Linked DNA regions of Homo sapiens: region 2 is linked to region 1. Evidence: promoter capture Hi-C in human tissues and cell types (Jung and others, 2019). All regions are on one chromosome and are shown on one strand. Each heading gives the region's core, a stretch centred on a gene start or on the middle of the fragment in contact. The rest is flanking DNA. Distances are from core to core; before and after follow the strand shown. Region 1 holds the start of MYO1F (myosin IF). Region 2 overlaps ANGPTL4 (angiopoietin like 4).

Region 1 (4,519 bases), core at 867-3,366:
CGGCCTCCCAAAGTGCTAGGATTACAGGTGTGAGCCACCGCACCCGGCCGGGCATTAGATTGTCATAAGCAGCATGCAACCTGGATCCCTCGTGTGTGCAGTTCACAACAGGGTTTGCGATCCTGTGATAATCTAATGGCGCCCCCGAGAATCTGAGAGGAGGTGGAGCTCGGGCTTGCTTGCCTGCCACTCATCTCCTGCTCTGTGACCCGATAGGGCTCATGGTTTCTAACAGACAGACCATGGCCCGATAGCAGTCCATGACCCCGGGGGTTGGGGACCCTGTTGTAAAGGACTTCAGAAATACTGTTTCATTGAATCCTTCAGCGATCTTCCTGGCATTCACCACTCCTCCAGGAAGATTTCAGCATCCCCAGACAGAGGTGGGTGTCATTTTTTTCTCTTCTATCATCCTCTGCGATACGGGTGGCCCCTCCCAGACCTTGTCTGCCAAGCCGACTGTTGACTAAGCATTTTCAGAGGGCTTCCTTGGGGAGGGGTTGCCTTTCTTTCAAGTAGCAAATCACTTCCTGTGTTCTTTTGATCAAAGCCCTGCCCATCCCAGGACCTGAGCCTCCCTGGCTTGCTTCTCATCTTGGAAGAATTCCCACCCCAACAGTCTCAGAGCTCCAGCTGATGGTTTGGGTGTGAATTCCGGGATGCCCAATTTCTCATCAGCTTTCCTTTTTTGAGACGGAGTGTGCTCTGTCACCCAGGCTGGAGTGCAGCGGCAGGATCTCAGCTCACTGCACCCTCCGCCTCCTGGGTTCAAGTTATTCTCTTGCCTCAGCCTCATATGTAGCTGGGATTACAGGCGTGTGCCACCACGCCCAGTTAATTTTTTGTATTTTTTAGTAGAGACGAGGTTTCACCACGTTGGCCAGGCTGGTCTCGAACACCTGACCTCAAGTGATCTACCTGTCTCAGCCTCCTAAAATGCTGGGATTACAGGCATGAGCCACTGTCCCTGGCCCTCACTGGCTTCCTGAAAGAAGGTGTTGTCTCTCAGACTAACACCACCTCTGCCTCTTGCCCTATGTCCCTGACTCCACCCTAGTAAGCTGTACCTGCCAAGAATCCTGCAGTGGCCGCTGTCACAGCCACATGCTCTCATCCTCACTGACTGAATGACGAGAAATGAAAGCTGAAGTGGTCTACACAGCAGAGAGCTGTGGGGTGGGGTCAGCCCTGGCCACCTCTTACTTTGCGTCTTATGGTGGTACGATACTGCTAGGAATAGCGCCATGATCACGACAGTCTCCCCGTTGCTATCATCGACAGACCTCAGACTTGACAGGCAGCAACACCTCTGGCTGCCATCCTCCTCTTGGGATAAGGGATGCCCACCAAAGGGTGGCATGGACGTATTCAGCCTCTCCTGCCTCTGCTGCAGCCATACCGCCCGTCACCGGCACAGGGAGGGCGTCAATCCACCCCATCGCTTGTTAGACATAGCTTCCCATCTCAGCCGAGGACTCTGTGGCAGAACCCACAGACCTTGAGAATGTTGCAACTGAAAGACCCCTGAAGAGCAACTTCCGCATCTAGACGGATTTCCAAATATGACATCTGTGGGAACCGGGGCCAAGAGAGGGGAAGTGACTAGCCCAAGGCTACACAGGGAGACGAGAGACTGGGCTGGACTGGGAAAGGGCTCCCTTAATTTGCAAGCAAAGGAGGCTATGTCCTTGTCCCTGCAGACTCTGTGATTCTCCCTGGGCCACCTTCTGTCTTCCAGGTCCTGCCCTATCCTTGGATCCAGGGATACCACCCTGGCATCCCCACCACCTACAGATGGGAGCTTGCTCCCTGGTAAGGGATGCTGGAGGCACCTGAGCTGCACTGAGAGACACCCCACCCCCACAGAAGTCCACCATGCCCCTCCCCTCACCCCAATTTCTGATGGTCATTTTTAGGACACCTCCACCTGGCTGGTGTCCCTCCTCTTTCTTCTTCCAGATCCCACCCTTGAAGGACTTACCATGGTGGGGGGCTGGTGTCTGGGCTCCTGGAGGCTCCTGAATGGGTCGTGATGGAGGTGCAGGTTCAGGGGGATCTTGGGGGTGGCTTGGGCATGGCCCTGCTTCTGCCCGTTCACCGGACTCCCGGCTTTAGTTCCTCTTACAACAGCCCCTTCTCACTTCCTTTGGCGGGAGGGGCCGAGGCCATGGGGGAGGGAAGCTGGGTGTGGAGGGGGGCGGGGAGCTGGCTGTTTGGGGCTCTGAGCCTGAAGGGAGGGGTCAGAACTTGATGGCAGCCACTACTGGACCTCAGAGGCCTCTTCCCCAACTCCTTGGGGACAGGGCTGCTGCAGGAACATTTGGGTCAGCTGGCTGCAGGACGAACCACCTCTTTTCAGGGCGATTCAGGAAGCATTTGGGCTTCCCGGGTCTCTTTTTAAAACCAAGGAAGGGGCCCAGGGGAGGTGGCTCACGCCTGTAATCCCAATACTTTGGGGGGCCAAGGTTGGAGGATCGCTTGAGTCCAGGAGTTTGAGACCAGCCTGGGCTATATAGCATGACCCCATCTCTACAAAAAATGAAAAGAAAAAAAATTAGCTGGGCATGGTGGCATGAGCCTGCAGTCCCAGCTACTCAGAGGGCTGAGGTGGGAGGATTGCTTGAACCTGGGAGGTGGAGGCCTCAGTGAGCCCTGATTGCGCCACTGCACTCCAGCCTGGGCGAAAGAGTGAGACCCTGTCTCTAAAAACAAACCAGAAAAAACAAAAAAACCAAAAAAACAACAACAACAGGGAAGGGTGCCTTCTTCAGCTGTGTCTGCTCTGGGCATCCCTGGGCAACCTCCTTCATTATTATTATTGTTATTATTTTGAGACGGAGTCTAGCTCTGTCACCCAGGCTAGAATGCAGTGGTGCAATCTCAGCTTACTTTAATCTCCGCCTCCTGGGTTCAAGCGATTCTCCTGCCTCAGCCTCCTGAGTAGCTGGGATTACAGGTGCCCACCGCCACACCTGGCTAATATTTGTATTTTTAGTAGAGACGGAATTTCGCCATGTTGGCCAGGCCGGCCTTGAACTCCTGACCTCAGGTGATCCTCCCAACTCGGCCTCCCAAAGTGCTGGGATTACAGGCATAAGCCACCACGCCTGGCCCAACCTCCCTCTTTAGATGACCCTCAGAAGTCACACGTGTTTGTGTGCAGAAGTGGAGGGTACTGGGAAGCAGGTGCATCTGAAAGGTCCCTGACTTTGGATGTCACATCTAGATTTAACAGCCTCCAGTTTGGCTACTTCCTGGATGACTTAGTTACTCCCTTTTCTCATTGTAAAATGGGAACGTGGGTCCCCCCAGCAGAGCCTGGCCCAGGTACGTGTCAGCCTATGAGCTGGTCTTTGGGACACCAGCCAACCACCTGAGGCTCCTCTTGACATGTGAGGAAATGGCAGTTCTAATAGGTTGTTACTTCCCCACACCACCCAGCAAGGAGGTGGCCGAGGCAGGACCCGACCCTGGGAGACCCTGGGGGACCCATGTTCAGATCTATCTTTGGTCCAGGGCGATAAACCCGCATCCCCCTTGAAGATGTTAATATGCAGCGCCCCTAGTGGCCACAGCTGGGAAGGAGCCCGTCTCTGCTGGAATCTCCTGAGCGAGTTTGCAGAATTGACGGGCTTGGGGCATGCAATTCTCAGCAATGTCTCCAGGCACTCAAGAGTGAATATGAATGGGTAAGAGGACCCCACTTTGTTGGGGGCCATCAGGGGAGGCTTCTAGGAAGAGGCAACGTTTGTGCTGACACCGGCGAGTAAGCTGGAGTTAAAAAAGGTAAAGGGGCAGGAGCGTGCACCTGGCCATGCTAAGCGCTCAAGCAAAGGCCCAGATATGGGAAAACCATAGGGCAATTGAGGAAGTTCGGGGAGGCTGGTGTGGCTGGAGCATGCGGAGTGACGGAGAGTGTGATGGCCAGGGTGGCAGGTGCTAGACCGTGTGGCTTTAAGAGCCTCTGTGAGGGCCAGGCATGGTGGCTGATGCCTGTAATCCCAGAACTTTGGGAGGCTGAGGTGGGAGGATCGCTTGAGCCCAGGAGTTCCAGACCAGCTTGGGCAACATAGCAAGACCTCGTCTCTACAAAAAATTAAAAAATCAGCTAGGTGTGCTGTTGCACCTATAATCTCAGTTACTTGGCAGGGTAGGCAGGAGAATCGTTTAAGCCCAGGAGTTCAAGGCTGCAGTGAGCTGAGATCGTGCCACTGAACTCCAGCCTGGGCTACAGAGTGAGACCCTGTCTCAAAAAACAAAAACAAAAAAGCAAAACCCTTCCACGAGAAGCTGTTGTACTTTTCTCCTAAAATCCCTGGGTTCCTGTCTGCAATGTTAAAAGTCCCCTTCTGGCTGGGCACGGTGGCCCATGCCTGTAATCCCAGCACTCTGGGAGGCCGAGGCGGGCAGATCACGAGGTCAGGAGATCGAGACCATCCTGGCTAACACGGTGAAACCCCGTCTCTACTAAAAAAGTACAAAAAATTAGCTGGGCATGTTGGCGGGCGCCTGTAGTGCC
Region 2 (4,519 bases), core at 651-3,150, 200 kb before region 1:
CATTCTCCTGCCTCAGCCTCCCGAGTAGCTGGGACTATAGGTGCCCACCACCACGCCTGGCTAATTTTTTTGTATTTTTAGTAGAGATGGGGTTTCACCGTGTTAGCCAGGATGGTCTCGATCTCCTGACCTCGTGATCTGCCTGCCTCAGCCTCCCAAAGTGCTGGGATTACAGGCGTGAGCCACCGCGCCCGGCCTACTTATTTATTTTTTGAGACAGAGTCCCGCTGTGTCTCCCAGGCTGGAGTGCAAGTGACGTGATCTTGGCTCACTGCAGCCTCCGCCTCCTGGGTTCAAGTGATTCTCCTGCCTCAGCCTCCTGAGTAGCTGGGATTACAGGTTCCCGCCACCATGCACAGATAATTGTTTTGTATTTTTAGTAGAGACGGGGTTTCACCATGTTGGCCAGGGTGGTCTTGAACTCCTGACCTCAAGTGATCTGCCCACCTCGGCCTCCCAAAGTGTTGGGATTACAGGCGTGAGCCACAATACCCGGCCACAAACATCTTTATAATGGTGCTCCACAGGATTCTTTTTTTTTTTTTTTTTTTGAAACAGGGTCTCACTCTGTTGCCTAAGCTGGAGTGCAGTGGTGCGATCTCGGCTCACTGCAACCTCCACCTCCCGGGTTCAAGCAATTCTCAAAAAAAAAAAAAAATTAGGCACGGTGGCTCACACTTGCAATCCCAGCACTTTGGGAGGCTGAAGCGAGTGGATCACTTGAGCCCAGGAGACCAATCTGAGCAACAGGGCGAAATCCTGTCTCAATTAAAAATACAAAAAACTAGCTGGGCATGGTGGTGCCTGCCTGTGTTCCCATCTACTTGGGAGGCTGAGTTGGGAGGATCTCTTGAGCCTAGGAGATAAGGCTGCAGTGAGCTGAGACTGCGCCACTGCACTCAAGCCTGGGTGACAGAGTGAGACCCCTGCCTCAAAAGAAAAAGAAAAAATGCAGGCATGGTGGCTCACACCTGTGGTCCCAGCTACTTGGGAGGCCCAGGTACAAGAATCACTTGAGCCCGTAAGGTTGACGCTGCATTGAGCCATCACCACACCACTGCACTCCAGCCTGGGCAATGGAGCCAGGCCCTGTCTCAAAAAAAATTGTTTTTAAACTTAAAAATAAGGCCGGGTGTGGGGGCTCACACCTGTAATCCCAGCACTTTGGGAGGCCGAGGTGGGTGGATCACCTGAGGTCAGGAGTTCAAAACTAGCCTGGCCAACATGGTGAAACCCTGTCTCTACTAAAAATACAAAAATTAGGCCAGGCGCAGTGGGTCATACCTGTAATCCCAGCACTTTGGGAGGCTGAGGAGGGTGGATCACATGAGGTAAGGAGTTTGAGACCAACCTGGCCAACATGGTGAAACCCCCTCACTACTAAAAATACAAAAACTAGCCAGGCGTGGTGGCGGGTGCCTGTAATCCCGGCTACTCAGGAGGCTGAGGCATGAGAATCCCTTGAACCTGGGAGGCAGAGGTGCAGTGAGCCGAGATTGTGCCACTGCACTCCAGCCTGGGAGATAGAGTGAGACTCAGTCTCAAAAAAAAAGACCAAAAATTAGCCAGGTGTGGTGGCAGGCGCCTGTAATCCCAGCTACTCGGGAGGCTGAGGGAGGAGAATCACTTAAACCTGAGAGACGGAGGTTGCAGTGAGCTGAGATCGCACCACTGCACTCCAGCCTGGGTGACAGAGTAAGACTCAATCTCAAAAAAAAAAAAGTCAAGTCCAAAGCCCAGCCTGGTCCCCAACCTGCCTCATCCTCAACCCTATCCCTATCTCCTTTCAGCCCCATCGGTGGCTCAAAGACCTGACCATGTTCCCTCTCCCCTGACCCCGGCAGGAGGCTGGTGGTTTGGCACCTGCAGCCATTCCAACCTCAACGGCCAGTACTTCCGCTCCATCCCACAGCAGCGGCAGAAGCTTAAGAAGGGAATCTTCTGGAAGACCTGGCGGGGCCGCTACTACCCGCTGCAGGCCACCACCATGTTGATCCAGCCCATGGCAGCAGAGGCAGCCTCCTAGCGTCCTGGCTGGGCCTGGTCCCAGGCCCACGAAAGACGGTGACTCTTGGCTCTGCCCGAGGATGTGGCCGTTCCCTGCCTGGGCAGGGGCTCCAAGGAGGGGCCATCTGGAAACTTGTGGACAGAGAAGAAGACCACGACTGGAGAAGCCCCCTTTCTGAGTGCAGGGGGGCTGCATGCGTTGCCTCCTGAGATCGAGGCTGCAGGATATGCTCAGACTCTAGAGGCGTGGACCAAGGGGCATGGAGCTTCACTCCTTGCTGGCCAGGGAGTTGGGGACTCAGAGGGACCACTTGGGGCCAGCCAGACTGGCCTCAATGGCGGACTCAGTCACATTGACTGACGGGGACCAGGGCTTGTGTGGGTCGAGAGCGCCCTCATGGTGCTGGTGCTGTTGTGTGTAGGTCCCCTGGGGACACAAGCAGGCGCCAATGGTATCTGGGCGGAGCTCACAGAGTTCTTGGAATAAAAGCAACCTCAGAACACTTTGTTCTTTGTTCTTGTTTGTTTTCTTTCTTTTTTTTCTCTTTCTTTAGTTCACAGATCTAGTAAGTTACCCTCAGTTTGTTTTAAAAAGTGAACAAAGTCCATGTAAACATGTTCCCAGGGCCAGGCACGGTGTCTCGTGCCTGTAATCCCAGCCATTTGTGAGGCCGAGACAGGCAGGTCACTTGAGGTCAGCAGTTCGAGACCAGCCGGGCCAACATGGTGGAACCCCCATCTCTACAAAAAAATACAAAAATTAGCCGAGCATGGTGGTGCACGTCTGTAGTCCCAGCTACTCTAGAGGCTGACGCAGAAGAATCACTTGAGCCAAGGAGGCAGAGGCTGCAAATAAGCCGAGATTGCGCCACTGCACTCCAGCCTGGGCAACAGAGCAAGACTCCATCTCAAAACAAAAATAATTTTTTTTTCGTAGAGGCAGGGTCTCATTCTATTGTCCAGGCTGGTCTCAAACACCGAGACTCAAGGGATCCTCCTGCCTTGGCTTCACAAAGTGATGGGATTAAAGGTGTGAGCGCCACTGCACCCACCCCTGAAGGCTCTAATTCTACATCTGTGTTTTGTTAAAAAAAAAAAAAAAAGATGGCGTGGTCGCTCATGCCTGTAATCCCAGCACTTTAGGAGGCCGAGGCAGGTGGATCATCTGACATTACGAGTTCCAGGCCCGCCTGACCAACATGGTGAAACCCCGTCTCTACTAAAAATACAAAAATTAGCCGGGTGTGGTGGCGGGTGCCTGTAATCCCAGCTACTCAGGAGGCTGAGGCAGGAGAATCACTTGAACTCGGGAGGTGGAGGTTGCGGTGAGCAGAGATCATGCCACTGCACTCCAGCCTGGGTGACAGAGCAAGACTTGATTTCAAAAAAAAAAAAAAAAAAAAAAAGAATAGGGCTGGGCGCATTGGCTCACACTTGTAACACTAGCACTTTGGGAGGCCAACGAGCGGATCACCCGAGGTCGGGTGATCCCGCTGTATTGCTCTATATAGTGAGATCCCTATATAGGGTCTCACTCTATTGTCCAGGCTGGTCTGGCCTGGCCAATGTGGTGAAACCTCATTTCTACTAAAAATACAAAAATTAGCTGGGCATAGTGATGCGCACCTATAATCCCAGCTACTCAGGAGGCTGAGGCCGGAGAATTGCTTGAACCCAGGAGGTGGAGGTTGCAGTGAGCCGAGATGGCGCTGAGAGGTGACAGCGTGCTGGCAGTCCTCACAGCCCTCGCTCACTCTCTGCGACTCCTCTGCCTGGGCTCCCACTGTGGCGGCACTTCAGGAGCCCTTCAGCCCACCGCTGCACTGTGGGAGCCCCTTTCTGGGCTGGCCAAGGCCGGAGCTGGCTCCCTCAGCTTGCAGGGAAGTGTGGAGGGAGAGGCGCGAGCCGGAATCGGGGCTGCGCGCGGTGCTTGTGGGCCAGCTGGAGTTCCGGGTGGGCGTGGGCTTGGCGGACCCTGCACTCAGAGCAGCCGTCCGGCCCTGCTGGCCCCGGGCAATGAGGGGCTTAGCACCCGGGCCGGACAGCGGCTGCGGAGGGTGTACTGGGTCCCCCAGCAGTGCCAGCGCACCGGCGCTGCGCTTGATTTCTCACCAGGCCTTAGCTGCCTTCCCGCGGGGCAGGGATCGGGACCTGCAGCCCGCCATGCCTGAGCCTCCCACCCCCTCCATGGGCTCCTGTGCGGCCCGCGCCTCCCTGACGAGCACTGCCCCATGCTCCATGGTGCCCAGTCCCATCCACCACCCAAGGGCTGAGGAGTGCAGGCGCACGGCGTGGGACTGGCAGGCAGCTCCACCTGCAGCCCCGGTGCAGGATCCACTGGGTGAAGCTAGCTGGGCTCCTGAGTCTGGTGGGGACGTGGAGAACCTTTGTCTAGCTCAGGGATTGTAAATACACCAATCATCACCCTATGTCTAGCTCAGGGTTTGTGAATGCACCAATGAACACTCTGTATCTAGCTACTCTGGTGGGGCCTTGGAGAACCTTTATGTCT

The links. The method cuts DNA at HindIII sites, captures the fragments that hold promoters and counts their contacts. A contact is called where the count stands out against the background at its distance.
Region 2: a contact is called between a fragment that was not itself captured here and the fragment with the promoter of MYO1F in region 1, in 1 of the 25 tissues and cell types used here (spleen).

What each region holds. Positions count from the first base shown.
Region 1 is chr19:8,575,326-8,579,844 of GRCh38, forward strand. MYO1F (myosin IF) reads right to left here and starts at 2,117. Exons shown (of 28, transcript NM_012335.4): 1 at 1,982-2,117. The coding sequence starts at 1,984. RefSeq lists enhancers at 562-621, 962-1,021, 1,192-1,371 and silencers at 1,492-1,541, 2,079-2,228, 3,449-3,643. The HindIII fragment of the contact is 34,715 bases long and covers 1-4,519 here.
Region 2 is chr19:8,371,861-8,376,379 of GRCh38, forward strand. It overlaps ANGPTL4 (angiopoietin like 4), which reads left to right. Exons shown (of 7, transcript NM_139314.3): 7 at 1,845-2,510. The coding sequence ends at 2,026. RAB11B-AS1 (RAB11B antisense RNA 1) reads right to left here. Exons shown (of 3, transcript NR_038237.1): 3 at 2,516-2,748. Among named protein-coding and RNA genes, the nearest start is that of ANGPTL4, 10 kb to the left of the region's middle. The HindIII fragment of the contact is 3,011 bases long and covers 396-3,406 here.